Linked DNA regions of Homo sapiens: region 1 is linked to region 2. Evidence: promoter capture Hi-C in 16 types of primary human blood cells and fetal thymus (Javierre and others, 2016). All regions are on one chromosome and are shown on one strand. Each heading gives the region's core, a stretch centred on a gene start or on the middle of the fragment in contact. The rest is flanking DNA. Distances are from core to core; before and after follow the strand shown.

Region 1 (5,160 bases), core at 661-3,160, 54 kb after region 2:
TCCACTACTTCCGCATTCCTGTGCTAGCTTTGGGACCCTAGTACCCACCCTCTAAGTTTCATCCTTCTCATAACCTTCTGTGCTTGCACAGGTTGTATGTCCCTAGACTTTCACTGCAGTGTCTGCTTTAGGCACCAGGATCCTCTACAGGAAGTAGAATCTTTCCTGACTACAAACTTATTGGATGTGGCTATTCATTATATGTTTAAGTTTTGCCACTTTTCTTTCCCTGGGGTTGGACTGAGTCTTCATCACATATAATTGATCTGGGTCCTATTGGAGCTAGACAGACCACCCAATACTGCCATTTACCTAACTCTGAATAACATCTTCCTGCCAGGAGACGCCTGCTGATATGCCCTGCCTGCCAGACTAGAATTCCTTGGGTATTGTGGGGGCTTATGCCCCCTCAATTTAGACATACGTGATTGGGCAAATTCCATGGTGCAGATTTTATTTTGCCACAAAAACATATAATAGGTCTATTTCCTCTCCTAGCCCTGTCCCTCCATAAGTGTTCACACATGGTAAACTGACCAGGAAAGGCTCTAATCCTCCATCCCTTACCCCAAGAGGGCTGCAAGTCAGGTAAGCAGCTCAAGAATTCAAATATGCCGGGTACAGTGGCTCATGCCTGTAATCCCAGCACTTTGGGAGGCCAAGGCAGGTGGATCATGAGGTCAGGAGTTCGAGACCAGCCTGACCAACATGGTGAAACCTCGTCTCTACTAAAAATACAAAAAAAAATTAGCCGGGCATGGTGGCAGGGGCCTGTAGTCCCAGCTACTCGGGAGGCCGAGGCAGGAGAATCACTTGAACCCAGGAGGCGGAGGTTGCAGTGAGCTGAGATCACGCCACTGCACTCCAGCCTGGGTGAAAGCGAGATTCCGTCTCAAAAAAAAAAAAAAAAAATTCAAACATATGCCCACATACTATTTATCTATATATGTGTAAAATGTAAACCAAGTTAACAGACTGTTTAATAAAATCTATCCTCTTTCCATGGAAAATATACCTTCAGAGCAATAAAACTGAAATGTATATAAAGCTGTGGTTTTTCATACAAACAGAAATTGGCAAATTTTTTTTTCTTTTTTGAGACAGAGTTTCGCTCTTGTTGCCCAGGCTGGAGTGCAATGGCATGATCTCAGCTCACTGCAAACTCTGCCTACCGGGTTCAAGCAATTCTGCCTCAGCCTCCCGAGTAGCTGGGATTACAGGCTAATTTTGTATTTTTAGTAGAGATGGGGTTTCTCCATGTTGGCCAGGCTGGTCTTGAAGCCCTGACCTCAAGTGATCTGCCTGCCTTGGCCTCCCAAAGTGCTGGGATTATAGGCGTGAGCCACTGCACCTGGCCAAAATTGGCAAATTATTAGATGACTGAATTTAGTTATTATTGCACATTTGCCATCTAATTGTTATTGTCTGGATAGTCTATTAATAAGTGATATAATGAAGACCATAATAATTCATAAATTTTTATGAATTTATTTCATGAGGTTCATTTCAGCGAATCACCAATTATTTTTTATTATTTTATTTAGAGCCAGGGTCTTGCTCTGTCACCCAAGCTGGAGTGCAGTGGCACAATCATAGCTCACTGACTGTAGCCTCAAACTCCTGTGCTCAAGCAATCCTCCTGCCTCAGCTTGCTGAGAAGCAGAGACTACAGTCAAATGCCAACATACCCAGGTAATTTTTTTTTTTTGAGATGGAATCTCACTCTGTCACCCAGGCTGGAGTGCAGTGGCATGATCTTGGCTCACTGCAACCTCCACCTCCCAAGTTCAAGCGATTCTCCTGCCTCAGCATCTCGAATAGCTGAGATTACAGGCACGTGCCACCACACCCGGCTAATTTTTTATATTTTTAGTAGAGACAGGGTTTCACCATGTTGGCCAGGCTGGTCTCGAACTCCTGACCTTGTGATCCACCAGCCTCGGCCTCCCAAAGTGCTGGGATTACAGGCGTGAGCCACCACGCCCAGCCAATATTTTGTATTTTTTATAGAGATGGGGTCTCTCTGTGTTGCCTAGACAGGTCTTGAACTCCTGGCCTCAAGCAGTCCTCCTGCCTCAGCCTTCCAAGGTGTTAGGATTACAGGCATGAGTCACTGTGCCCAGCCAATTATGTTGTTATAATCAAGATTTTAACAAAATTTGTATGTTAATGATAACCATGATCTAAAAGATTCAAAACTAATGTTGGGCACAGTGGCTCATGCCTGTAATCCCAGCACTTTGGGAGGCTGAGACGGGTGGATCACCTGAGGTCAGGAGATCGAGACCAGCCTGGCCAATGTGGTGAAACTCCATTTCTACTAAAAATACAAAAATAAGCCAGGCATGGTGGCGGGCTCCTGTAATCCCAGCTACTCGGGAGGCTGAGGCATGAGAATCACTTGAACCCGAGAGGCAGAGGTTGCAGTGAGCCAAGATCGTGCCACTGTACTCTACCCTGGGCGACAGAGCAAGACCCTGTTTCTAAAAAAAAGAAAAAAAAAAGATTCAAAATAAAATGTAACTGCATTCAAAGTATACAAAATTTGAGTACATTTGAATCAACAATTATAAATTAAATATACAAATACAGCTTGAGGTTGAGTGCATTTGGGTACAGGCAATCTCACACCTGTAATCACAGCACTTTGGGAGGATGAGGCGGGATGATCACTTGAGCCCAGGAATGATATAATAAAGATAATAATAATTCATATATTTTGTATATTTGTTTTCTGGTGTTCATTTGAGCAAATCATCAATTATTTATTATCATTATTGTTGTTGTTTTAGAGTCAGAGTCTTGATCTGTCACTCAGGCTGGAGTGCAGTGGCACAATCATAGCTCATTGCACCCTCAAACTCCAGGGCTCAAGCAATCCTCCTACCTCAGCCTCTAGAGTGCCAGAGACTATGGTCCATGCACTAGGCCCAGCTAATATTTTGTATTATTGTGTTCAATATCTATTTTCCCATATAAAAAATTGATGTCAGGCCAGGCATGGTGGCGTGCACCTATAGTCTCAGCTACTTGGTAGGCTGAAGACGGAGGATCACTTGAGGCCAGGAATTTGAGGCTGTAGTGCATTATTATGATTGCACTTGTGAATAGTCACTGCATTCCAGGCTGGGCAATATAGCAAGACCTCATCTCTAAAAAGATTTTTTTTAATTGTTGTCATGGTTAATATTGTATCTAAACCTATGCAATAGCTGGCTACGATGGTTAACACTGAGTGTCAACTTGATTGGATTGAAGGATGCAGAGTATTGCTTCTGGGTGTGTCTGTAAGGGTGTTGCCAAAGGAGATTAACATTGAGTCAGTGGACTGGGAGAGGCGGACCCTCCCTCAATCTGGGTGGGCACCATCTAATCAGCTGCCAGCACAGCTAGGATAAAGCAGGCAAAATTTGGAAGGACTTGACTTGCTGAGTCTTCCGGCCTTCATCTTTCTCCCACGCTGGATGCTTCCTGCCTTCATCTTTCTCCCACGCTGGATGCTTCCTGCCCTTGAACATCAGACTACAAGTTCTTCAGCTTTTGGCCTCTTGGACTTACACCAGTGGTTTTCCAGGGGCCTTTAGCTGCAGACTGAAGGCGGCATTGTTGGCTTCCTTACTTTTGAGGTTTCGGGACTCTGACTTCCTTGCTGCTCAGCTTGCAGGTGGCCTATTGTGAGACTTCATCTTGTGATCATGAGTCAATAATAACTCCTTAATAAACTCCCCTTCATATATACATCTATCCTATTAGTTCTGTGCCTGCAGAGAACCCTGACTAATACACCAGCTTCTAAGATGGCTTCCAATTGTCCTTGCCTCCTGGTATTCATACCATTGTATAGTCTACTGCCACACTGATTCAGGGCTGTTCTGTATGACCAATAGAATATGGTGGAAAAGATGCTGCATGACTTCCAAATCAAGATAATAGAATTCATTGAAGCTTCTCTCTTAATCTGGGATTGCCTGCTCTGGGGGAAGCTGGCAAGCATGAAATGAGAACATTCAAGCAGCTCAAGAAGAGAGGCCCACATGCAGAGGAACTGAGGCTTCCTGCCAACAGCCAGCACCAACTTGCCAGATATGACAGTGAGTCATTTTGGAAGTAGATTTTCCAGCCTCAGTCAAACTTTCAGATAACTATAGACTTAGTTGACATCTGACTACAACCTCATGAGACATCTAAAACCAGAATATTGCAGCCAAACGACTCCTGAATTTCTGATGATCAGAAATGGTGAGAGATGATAAATGATTATCGATGTTTTAAGACACTAGGTTACAGGATAATTTTGTCATGCAGCATTAGATAATGAACATAACTCACACATATTCATATATAAGAGTAAAATGAATTTTTTTCGTTGCAAAATGTTTCTCAGCTGCCATTGCAACTACTGCAAATAAAACACCAATTCATGAATAGCTCCAGAGCCACACATTGAAACATGAGTAAAAGCAGGACAAATACATTTTTATTCTATTGTGAACCAATGCTTTTTTAGTGAAAGAATTTACTGCATTCATGCTGTTGAGAAAAAAAAAATCTGAAAGGTAAATTAATTTGTCTTTTCTTTTACTTAAGAACTTTTGTTACTCAAATCCTCCCCACAGCACAGAGCATCATCTCTCTCCAATGTCAGCAGCAGCACCCCATAAATCTGTCAGCATTCTTTTTTTTTTTTTTTTTTTTTTGAGACGGAGTCTTTCTCTTGCCAGGCTGGAGTGCAGTGGCGTGATCTCGGCTCACTGCAACCTCCACCTCCTGAGTTCAAGTGACTCTCCTGCCTCAGCCTCCTGAGTAGCTGGGACTACAGGCGTGCACCACCATGCCCATCTAATTTTTGTATTTTTAGTAGAGAGAGGGTTTCACCATGTTGGCCAGGATGGTCTCGATCTCCTGACGTCGTGACCCGCCTGCCTTGGCCTCCCAAAGTGTTGGGATAACAGGCGTGAACCACCGCACCCGGCCAATCTGTCAGCATGTAGAGGCAGTTGTGTTGTTTCAAGCACATGGCACAAGAGATGCAGAATGGGGACAGAATGGGCCCTGGGGCCTGAACACTGTTGGTCAGAAGAATGGATATTTAGGGCCTGGGTTCTAGTGCACTGAACACTGGATCCCAAGTGCCAGAGGCACTCGTGTGTTCTTTAACAA
Region 2 (5,136 bases), core at 1,552-4,051:
CACTTTAAGTAGTTTAAACCATGAAAAATATGCTTATCAGGACTTTCTTAACTGCTTGCCAATTTATCCTCCTAGTTGCTCCTCTAAATTGTTTAAGTGTGTGTCAGTATTTATCTCTCAAAACATATAGGCAATAGCCTAAGAATTGAGTGCTCAGAAAAACTTAGCTGATATTTCTGTGAAATCCAGGAAACCACTCAGACTTTGAAAATTTCTTTTATTTATATAGCTGTTAAGCCTTGAAAGTATAATTAATGTTGCCAGTAGAGGACCTTTATAATAATGTTTTCAAGACTAATATAATCCTTGTCAATAATCACAGTTAGATGGAGGTCATCTAAGGTAAGCCGAGTTATCTCTGACCCTAAATTCTTGTTTTTCCAACCAAACGAAGAAAAATTTCAAGGATGTGCTCAAGGGCAGCATTACGAACAGTATGATTAATAGTTAGGAAACTATTGGCTGAGCCTTACAGAGTCTTCCATAGCAAAGATGTGTTAAATTTATCTGGGGTTTGGAAGAAACAGTCTGCTCTGGAGTGAATTTGACAACTCGAGGGCATGTCCTCTCTTGGAAAATGTTTCATCAAGATTTGAAAAGAATTTGCCATCAAAACGGAAAGCCACAGGAGCAGCTGAGTAGATAGAAATTCCCTTCAACTTGAAAGGCATGAGCTTTTAACTAAGGAAAATAATCTGGAGAAATGGAACTATTTATCTCACAGTTCTTTTATATCCCAGCTGGTATGGCCATATTCAACCTAGAGAGCATGATAACCTCCCACTGGACCGTACCATCTAATAAGAGATGGTGGGATATAATGAATCCGGCCATGTGCCACACTGAAAGGCAGCAGAGTGTAGCAGGAGAGCCTTGAGCTTCACCTTAGGCTGGAAGTCAGAATCTAGCACTGCCTCCTCCAACTAGCTGAGCACATTTTATATCCTTTATTTTTTTTACTTTATTTTTTACATTTCATATCTAATGTGCCTTTTTTTTTTCTTTCTGAAAAAGAAACAGATGAGGTTTTGCCATATTTGCCAGGCTGGACTTGAACTCCCTAGCACGAGCAATCCTTCTGCCTCCACCTCCCAAAGTGCTGTGAGCCACTGTGTGTGATTTTTTTTTTTTTTTTTTTTTTTTTTGAGACAGGGTCTCACTCTGTCACCCAGGCTGGAGTGCAGTGGCAAGATCTCAGCTCACTGCAGTCTTGACCTCCTGAGCTCAATCAGTTCTCCCACCTCAGCCTCTGGAGTAGCTGGGACTGCAGGCATGTACCACCACACCCATCTATGTTGTAAACTTTTTTTTTTTTTGAGACTGAGTCTCGCTCTGTCACCCTAGTGATTAAACTAGTTAACTCTCTTTCTGAGTATCAAAAAACCAATCTGATCATTGGCTTGTACTCTTCTTATGAGAATATGTTAAATATAATTATAATTAGGTTCAGGACTATAACTTCTGAGAAACGTCTATTTACATAGCAAATGAACAAATATTGTGCCTGTTACATGCCAATAGAACTTTAAGCTAGAAGTATTATGTTCATGTCCTTTTTGTTTTTTAATTCATGACCACCAGTAAATCCCTGGACATTCCCACCCACCACCTGGTGGTGGCATTTGCTAAAGGGAATAATTGCCACCTCCCTCAGAGGGTTGCAGTGAAAATTAAAAGAGATAATAGATGTGAAAGTGCTTTATAATCTTTCAAGTGCCAAACACACATAAGGGATTATTATAGTAGGAAATGGTGTCTTCCAAAGAGTAATCATTTAGACAATGTTATAAACGTAATAAATTATTGGTTTCCATATTCAAACCATGACAAGTTCTTGTAGCCACGATGAGACGGAAAACTAATAATTTAGTATTTTTAGTTGATGTGTTTTTTTGTTTTGTTTGTTTTGTTTTGTTTTTGGGGTTTTTGTTTTGTTTTGTTTTGCTTTTGAGACAGGGTCTTGCTCTGTCACCCAGGCTTGAATGTAGTGGCATGATCTCGGCTCACTGCGACCTCCGCCTCCCGGGTTCAAGCGATTCTCCTGCCTTAGCGTCCCGAGTAGCTGGGATTACAGGCCCGCGCCACCACTCCCGGCTAATTTTTTGTATTTTTAGTAGAAACGGGGTTTCACCATGTTGCCCAGGCTGCTCTCCAACTCCTGACCTCAAGTGATCCGCCTGCCTCGGCCTCCCAAAGTGCTGGGATTATAAACGTGAGCCACTGTGCCCGGCCGCTGATGTGGAAATATTAATTTCACATCCCATAGAGGAATATACAGTGTTTTTGATATTTTAAAGTCGTTTTAACAGTGAGCTGTCTAGAAATTCAACCATTGTCTGCAGATTTTCTTACGATTCTGAGCATCACCCAGTGCGCTAATGGAAGGCTGAGGCTACCCCTTCGCTCTTCTCATTTTTAAGAAACTTCCAGCTATCCTTCCCTCTCCTAGGAAAGCTAACGGAATGCAGGAGATAAAATGGTTTCAGATTACATCCAGCGTGATAAACTGTGTCCTTGTCTTAATCTCGTCCAATTCCCAAAACATTTCCAGCTTGCTGTGAGGAGTTACATTCAGTGGTACAGAATGAGCCAGGCAGGCGACGGCGACTTGTAGGTTCCCCATCCCTTTTCTGAGATGCCGCGGTCAGCTCTAGAGACCTCAGGGATAGCAACAGAGCTGGAGATGGGTTAGGGGAGGATGGTGAGGACTACAAAGGTCTCCCCACCTCCCGGGGGCCGCGGAGGCGGGGCTGGATGAAGGTCGACGTGCCTCCTCCGGGCGGGGCGCTGCCAGGCTCTCAGCCTCTCTGTGGAAGGGCAGCCTGCGCCTGGGTACCGAGGCTGCTGCGCGGCGGACAGCGGGCGCGATGTATCTCCGCAGGGCGGTCTCCAAGACTCTGGCGCTGCCGCTGAGGGCGCCCCCCAACCCCGCGCCGCTCGGAAAGGACGGTGAGTAAGGAGGTCTAGCCCGGAGAGGAGGACGGGCGCCTCGGGTGCAGATTTCGCCCGCGCCAGGGAACCGGCCGGCACCCAGTTGGCCAAACCCGACCCAGAGCAGCAGAAGCCTGGATTGGAGGTCGAGGAGACTGGGGGAGACTCCCGGGAAGACGTCCCGAAGCTCCTGCAGACTTTGGAAGTAGGGAACTTTTCCAGGGTGCCTCAGAGTCCAGATTATCTGGGTTCGCATCCTGATCTTGGACAAATGGCTTAACCTGTTTCCTCATCTATAAAATGAGGGCGATGATGGTTTTCCTTTTTAATGAGTTAATGTATGGTTAAAAGCACTTAAAAACGTGCCTGGCTGACAAAGTCGCAGCTTACCACTTTTATTGTTAGAGGCACCATTCGCTCTCCAATCTCCTGAGGAAGCAGAGGAACGGTGGGAAGGTGGACGCCGATCAGCGAGCGGGCCCGGCAAGCGCTGGGAGGCAGTGAGGCAGGGCCCGCTCAGTGGACGCTGGGCGAATGTTCGTGGGGTAAATAAACCTAACCCTTGGCAGGGTCTCAGCAGCCTGAACCCCGCGAGCGCCTGGCTCTGAGATCCACAACCCCCAAAAAGGAAGCGGCCTTCGGGACACTTTCCTTTGAGGTTGCACGTCGTCCTGCAACTGCTTGGCTCTGTAGTCCAAATATCGACACCTTTGGTTCTGAGGATACGCGAGAAAAAGCAGAATACTCAGCAATTAACTAAAGGGGGAGTTGCAGTGTGAACTGGAGGCTTATTAAATAAAAACGGACATATAGGAAAGCGCTTCGTATAGTGCTGGGAACATAGTAGGTGCTTAATAGGTGTGAGCAAGGAAGATTGTTTTTCTTCTGGGACCAGGCTTGCGCTCCAGGGCGGTTCTGCCCCAGCCGCTTTTCCCTAGTCCCCATCCGTCACCCCTCTCTCTTCCACTCACGACTGGGGGACGGCTCTTAGACAATATCGTGAAGGGTTCTTAATGCTCTCTTCACTTAGCCTCACTTTCTGAGCCTTCCGAGATAATTTTACCCCAGAGGGTGGATTCCAGCAGGAGAGAAAGATGTGCGCGGAGAATTCCATGGGCCGATTTTTTTTTCACGTTGATTAGGCCTCTGTTGGTGGTGGTGGGAGGGAAGGACGGAGGTCTAACTAACTCGCTTTATTTTTCTTGTAAAATGCTGGTGGAAGGAAGTTATCCCTCAAGTATCAGAAATAAGACATCTTCGTTTTCCTAGATCTTTATTGCCTTTATTTTTCTAGATCTTTATACCAAATGATATAGAGCTTTTAAATATATATATACACTGATGAAGTAGGGAGAAGCCATTTATTTTAAACTTCGGAAGATAACGGGACTGTTCTGTTGAGAACGGGGAGAAAGATTAGTCCTCTGACCGTGGCCTTTCGTTTTATCTGTCTGCGTTCCCCACCGACATCATGCGCGCGTGCACGCACACACAAACACACACACACACACGCGCACCTTTTTTTTGTAGCTGCAGAAATTCCAAATAATTTTCTTCCCAATTTGCGGCAAAATAGAAGTAGTTTAAAAATTTTAAATACGTATCTAGCAATGCTGCTTGTAAAGGTACTGGTCTTTCTCTGATTTTCATCTAACTATTTTTGCAGCACTTAAAATGTATTTAAGAACTATTATTGATTGGAAACAAATTTGTCTTCAGTCGTGGACATTACTTAACCTTTTGTTCATACTTTCTACTTTGATGAAAAATAATTTTTTTCAGTTTTATTGAAGGAAAAATTTTTAACTGTGTCTCATCACATTTTGTTCTCTCCTTTTTGCTTTTAAAAGGGTAATTTTATTTTTTTGAGACAGAGTTTCACTCTTGTTGCTCAGGCTGGAGTGCAATGGCGTGATCTCGGCTCACCACAACCTCCGCCTCCCGGATCCAAGTGATTCTCCTGCCTCAGCCTCCGGAGTAGCTGGGATTACAGGCACGGGCCACCACACCCAGCTAATTTTGCATTTTTAGTAGAGATGGGGTTTCTCCATGTTGGTCAGGCTGGTCTTGAACTCCCAACCTAAGGTGATCCACCTACCTCGGCCTCCCAAAGTGCTGGGATTACAGGTGTGAGCCACCGAGCCCAGCCTTAAAAGGGTAACTTTTTAATGAATAAATAATTTAGATTTATAATAGATAATTGGG

The links. Contacts are between HindIII fragments. The CHiCAGO score rates a contact against its expected background, and 5 or more counts as called.
Region 1: a fragment that was not itself captured here is called in contact with the fragment with the promoter of MGARP in region 2 in 2 of 17 cell types (erythroblasts and M2 macrophages); the score reaches 5.5 in erythroblasts.

What each region holds. Positions count from the first base shown.
Region 1 is chr4:139,222,772-139,227,931 of GRCh38, reverse strand. The region is part of intron 2 of LOC105379412 (a long non-coding RNA gene); the gene reads right to left. Among named protein-coding and RNA genes, the nearest start is that of ELF2, 48 kb to the right of the region's middle. The HindIII fragment of the contact is 4,075 bases long and covers 1-3,947 here.
Region 2 is chr4:139,277,890-139,283,025 of GRCh38, reverse strand. MGARP (mitochondria localized glutamic acid rich protein) reads left to right here and starts at 2,801. Exons shown (of 4, transcript NM_032623.4): 1 at 2,801-2,949. The coding sequence starts at 2,868. RefSeq lists an enhancer at 2,837-3,046. The HindIII fragment of the contact is 26,288 bases long and covers 1-5,136 here.